2 separate regions of the Homo sapiens genome follow, and region 1 is linked to region 2. Evidence: promoter capture Hi-C in human tissues and cell types (Jung and others, 2019). All regions are on one chromosome and are shown on one strand. Each heading gives the region's core, a stretch centred on a gene start or on the middle of the fragment in contact. The rest is flanking DNA. Distances are from core to core; before and after follow the strand shown.

The links. Contacts are between HindIII fragments. The study calls those that stand out against the background at their distance.
Region 1: a contact is called between a fragment that was not itself captured here and the fragment with the promoter of CAPN8 in region 2, in 1 of the 25 tissues and cell types used here (neural progenitor cells).

Annotation. Positions count from the first base shown.
Region 1 is chr1:223,612,692-223,615,391 of GRCh38, reverse strand. The region is part of intron 10 of CAPN8 (calpain 8); the gene reads left to right. Among named protein-coding and RNA genes, the nearest start is that of CAPN8, 52 kb to the left of the region's middle. The HindIII fragment of the contact is 3,236 bases long and covers 1-2,700 here.
Region 2 is chr1:223,664,189-223,667,089 of GRCh38, reverse strand. CAPN8 (calpain 8) reads left to right here and starts at 1,389. Exons shown (of 21, transcript NM_001143962.2): 1 at 1,389-1,680. The coding sequence starts at 1,444. The HindIII fragment of the contact is 26,634 bases long and covers 1-2,901 here.

The DNA of each region.
Region 1 (2,700 bases), core at 80-2,579, 52 kb after region 2:
CCCCTCTACAGACTTAACAGCCTCACAGATATGTTAAAGCAAGACCTTTGTGTCTTGACAAGTCTAGCCAGAAGCAAATTGGAATCCACTTTTTTATACAGGCAAAGACTCCTTATAGCAAATTCCAGCGGGGCTCATGGTGGCCATTTTTAAATCAATTTTATTAAAGGAATTTCTTGGGAAAAATACAATTCTAATCAGGAAGACCAAGAGCTGTCTGGAGGCCCAATATCTCAGTATAAATTAATGTATGAAAAAAATATTGTAATAAGAAACCAGTAAGGAAATAGTGCAATGGTCGAGATCCTATCTGCACCCCACACTTTATTTCTCATATTCTGGAATTTAGGGCTTTAGAGTTTAGGGTGTATATGTGCATGTGTGCACATGCACGAGCATGCGAGTATATTTTATGTTGAAGAATGGGAGTTGGAAAATAATTGCTAATTGATGGCAGGAGAAAGGAATTGCAAATAAATAAACTCCAATTCTACTCCAGTGTGGCTCTTTCATCTCCACCTAGAATGTAAGTAGCACAAAGCCAGACTCTGTTTGAAGAGATAAAAACCTGAGTAGGCACTTAGTGTATGCGCATCAATTCAACAAACTGTAGTGAGCATCTATTATGTGCCGGGTGCTGTGCTGAAAGCTGAGGACATGGAGGATTATCACATAGTTACTGCCCTCAAGGTGCTCACAATCTGAAGTGGAAAGTGAGATGCACACTCCACTGGCAACAGAGCAGGTCAGATCTGCTGTGATGGGGACCTGACACAATGGGCTGGGTTCACCTCAGCTTCATCGAGGAGGAGATTTTGATGAGAACCTTGAAAGATGAACTTGATTTCAAGGGAGAACATTCCAGCCAAAAGGACATTTCTTGGCAGCTTGAAAGTTAAGTGATGGTTTTGGAGAGTCAATAGTAGGTGGGCATGGCTGCAGGGTGGGCTACTCAGTTCTTCATCCATCAGGCCTACCTTTTTTTTTTTTTTGAGACGGACTCTCACTATGTCGCCCAGGCTGGAGTGCAGTGCTGTGAACTCGGCTCACTGCAACCTCCGTCTCCCAGGTTCAAGCAATTCTCCTGCCTCAGCCTCTTGAGTAGCTGGGATTACAGGTGCGTGCCACCACATCTGGCTAATTTTTGTGTTTTTAGTAGAGATGGGGTTTCACCCATTTTGGCCAGGCTGGTCTCAAATTCCTGACCTCAGGTGATCCACCCGCTTTGGCCTCCCAAAGTGCGGGCATTAAAGGCGTGAGCCACTGCACTCAGCCAGGCCTACCTTATATAACCAGACCAGCAAAGCATTCTTTCAAAGGGACTGAAATAGCTTTGTGTGGCATGACATTTGCGCTCATAAATAATATATAAAGCATATCAGTTTTTTAGTCATCAAATTATAGCTGCTTATAAAATATTCCAGTGTGTGTGATCTGTGGTCCTTCTATATCTGGCCACAGGCATATAATTTAGAGCATGACATCCATAAGTGAAAACAGTTTAAAAGTCAGGTTAAGAGGGTATCAGAAGTAGCTGGGGTTATAGGGAGTAGCTGGGGTTGCAGGGAGTGGGTGCCATATTCTCATTCCTGTATCTCCCTTCTCTTGCTTTAACTGGAGTTTGGATTGAGGATGAAAACCTGCTGCTGACTGAGAAGCAGCCAGGTGCCTCCAAAGACTAAAGAGCCCTCCTTGTCTGGCCTCCTCTCTCTCCCCTCTATCTTCCTGCAGTGATGCCAGGCCAGCCTGTCATTTGCAGTCAGGATCCTGCATTTGAAAGATGACTGTTTCTTTCCATCCACCCATGGGCAGTGGCTAAGGCCTGCTCCCTTACCTCGCTGCTCTGGATTTGTGCCACCAAGAGGCCCCACCTGCCTGGCTCAGTTTCTGCTGGGTGATTCTTGGTAGGGTGGATCTGGAGCATACTGATGGCAGCAGAGGTGGTCAAGTTGTTTGTGGAAAGACGGCCCATGTGGTTGGGCAAGCCCCTGCCAAGGGTGTGTAAAGGCTATTAGGCCAGGAGCTGACAGGAAGATACTTGTGAGGCCTCTGCATGGGTGATTTTGGTTTTACACTCAAAATTAGAGGAATGACTGTGACCCTGGACTCTTCTACTTCTGCTGCCAATGACCCATGGGGGCTCCAGAAGTGAGCATGCCAGCTGATACACATTTTCTGTAATATTGTTGTTTTTCAGAGTTATAGGCAGTTGACCATAGACCTAAACCACAAATAATGGATGGTCTTCTGGTCAAAAGGGCCTATGTGTCAGGGACAAAGAATGGAAAGGGACAAATTATGGGGTCTGAATCCTCTTCTCTAGCCTGGCATAGGAACCCCAGGCATGGGAAAGCTTCTACTCTGGATCTGAGAGCTACTCTCTTATGGGAGTCAACACTTCCAGTTGCATATAATAAAGCCCAACTCGAGCTAGGCTAGTGAAAATAGTGTACCAGCTCATGAAACCAAATTAAGGGAAGGAGATGAAGGCTTGGGACAAGGGACTTGGATACTACCAGGATTCTTTCTTTCCACATCTCCTCTCTAGTGCTGATGACATTGTGCTAGTCTAGATTTCTTCATTCCCTAATATCACTAGCATTAAGAAAGGAGTCCCTTCTGTTAGTTCCAATTCAGAAATCCCAGAGAAGTAAGTCTCTGATGGGCTCAGCTTGGGTCATGTGCCTGTTCTTGAACCAT
Region 2 (2,901 bases), core at 140-2,639:
CTGCACACTATATTTGTTTCCTGCGTCTTCTGTAACAAATGACCACAAATATGGTGGCTTAGAACAACATACATGTATTCTGTCACCGTTCTGGAGGCCAGAAGTCCCAAGGCTGTGAAATCGAGGTGTTGGAAGGCCCACATCCCTCCAGCGGCTCTAGGGGAGAATCCATTCTTGCCCCTTCCAGCTCCTGTGGCTGCTGGTGTTCCCTGGAGTGGGGCAGGATCTCGCTAACCTCTGCCTGCCTCATTTCATCACCTCTCCTTTTTGTCTATTGTCAAATCTTCTTCTGCCTTCCTCTTAGGACACTTGTGTATTTAGGGTCAGGATAATCTTCCCATCTCGAGATCCTTAACTTAGTCATAGCAGCAAAAACCCTTTTCCCAGATAAGGGACTATTTACAGGTTCTCAAGATGAGGACCTGGTATCCTTGGGGGACCATTTTCTAGTGTGCCACAAACACTGAAGTTCAAAAAGCATTGGTGTGGTTGACATCCTTCGGGTAGACCAGATGTAGGAAACTGGAGCCCAGAGAGAAGTGACTAATCCAAGGTCATACAGCTTGTAACTCACTTCTGAGATTGGAATCAAGGCTCCTGATTCCAAGGCCTTTCTGGGAATCCTGGCTTCAAGGAATAGTGATACCTGACATTCACTGAATGTTACTTCATACTGTTCTAAGCAGATGACATGTACTATCTCATCACTCTTCCGAACAACCCTTTGTGGTAGGCTCTCCTATGCTCTTCCAGTTTATAGATAAAAAAACTTAGGAGAAAAGAGGTTAAACAACTTGCCCAACATGACAGAGCAAATTACCGGGGGAGCTGGGATAGAAACCGAGGCAGTCAGAGGCCAAAGCGTTCACTCACAGGTGGAACCTCCTCCAGTCAGGCTTATTCCAAATCTGGCCTGTGAATCACTACTCTCTGGTATTTTTTGCCTTCCTAGGAAATATGCACCAAAACATTTCTGGCAGGAAAGGAGGCCCCTGTAACTACTTGCCTTCTTCCTGCTCAGAGCCATGCCTCCAATTCCTTGATGAATATTTGCTTCAAGCTGCTCAATAAGCCTTCTCATCTCAGTCAATGGGCTTGAAGCAAGGTAAGCAGGTCTTGCAAAGAGGTGTGTGGAGGGAATGCCGGGGTGGGGTCAAGATCCTAATGGATTTCTTAGGCTAATGGCCTGGGATGGGCCCTGGAAAGTTCCCAGACCCCAAATTATTTGCAAAAGGCAGAAGAAGAAGGTGGGGCAGATTGGCCTGGACCTTGGGTACATATTTGTCCCTGGCCATGACTCACTTCCTTCTGGAACAGGGCCTCAGGTGAAATGTTTGTCTGCTCCACCTCCTTTAGTGCCTTATAGCTCCCCTCCCAGTGGAGCAGGTGTCTGAGAGTACAGTGCAGCCCTGCCCTTCTGTCCACCCTACAGAGCCCACGGCCATGGCAGCCCAGGCAGCTGGTGTATCTAGGCAGCGGGCAGCCACTCAAGGTCTTGGCTCCAACCAAAACGCTTTGAAGTACTTGGGCCAGGATTTCAAGACCCTGAGGCAACAGTGCTTGGACTCAGGGGTCCTATTTAAGGACCCTGAGTTCCCAGCATGTCCATCAGCTTTGGGCTACAAGGATCTTGGACCAGGCTCTCCGCAAACTCAAGGCATCATCTGGAAGCGGCCCACGGTAAGGAAGCGGGCTTGCTGTTGAGTGACATACAAGGTGGAGGGGCCTTACATCTGATCAGGAGGAACTGAGGGAGAAGTTGAGGCTGTGGACCCTAAGTGTCTGGATCTCATATTTCAGATCCCTCCACCACCACCTTTTTTAATTTTATTTTTTTGAGATGGAGTCTTGCTCTGTCACCCAGGCTGGAGTGCAATGGCATGATCTCAGCTCACTGCAACCTCTACCTCCTGGGTTTGAGTGATTCTCCTGCCTCAGCCTCCCGAGTAGCTGGGATTACAGGCATGTGCCACCATGTCTGGCTAATTTTGTATTTTTAGTAGAGATGGGGTTTCTCCATGTTGGTCAGGCTGGTCTCAAACTCCCAACCTCAGGTGATCCATCTGCCTCAGCCTTCCAAAGTGCTGGGATAGCAGGCATGAGCCACTGCATCTGGCCCCCCCATCACCTTTTGAACTCTTATTTTTTTTGAGGCAGAGTCTCACTCTGTCACCCAGACTGGAGTGCAGTGGTGCGATCACAGTGCACTGCAACCTCAACCTTCCTGGGCTCAGGTGATTTTCCTACCTTAACCTCCCAAGTAGCTGGGATTATAGGCACGTGCCACCACACCCAGCTAATGTTTACATATTTTTGTAGAGACAGGGTTGTGCTGTGTTGCCCAGGGTGGTCTTGGACTCCTGGGCTTAAGCCATCTGCCCACCTCAGCCTCCCAAAGTGTTAGGATTACAGATGTGAGCCACTACACCCAGCCTGAACTCTTGTTCAGAGATGGTGAGGTATAGAGAGAAGAGCATGGATGAGCTTTGGAACTAGGTAAGATAGATTTGAATCCTAGCTCTGCCTGTGTTGTTTTGGGCCGGTAAACTCTGTGAACCTTAGTTTTCTCATCTGTAAAATGGCATTTACTGGCACCTTATTTTTCAGGGTTGGTATGAGAATTAGAGATAAATCTCAGAGCATAGTGCCCAGAACATAATAGATGCAGAATACGTAGTTGTTATTACTGCATATGGTCCCTGGGCCAGTGCACAATGGAACAACTCAGTGCTGGATGCAATCAGCTGGCAGGTAAATTGTGACAACATCATTGCTGAAAGGTGCACGGTTGCGCAAGGTCATGAATTGACATTATTCCATCAGGGCTGGTGAGTGGAGAGGTGGGAGCTGGGGCTCTGTGGATGCAGACGGAAGGCAGAGGCTCCTGGATGCGGTTACTGA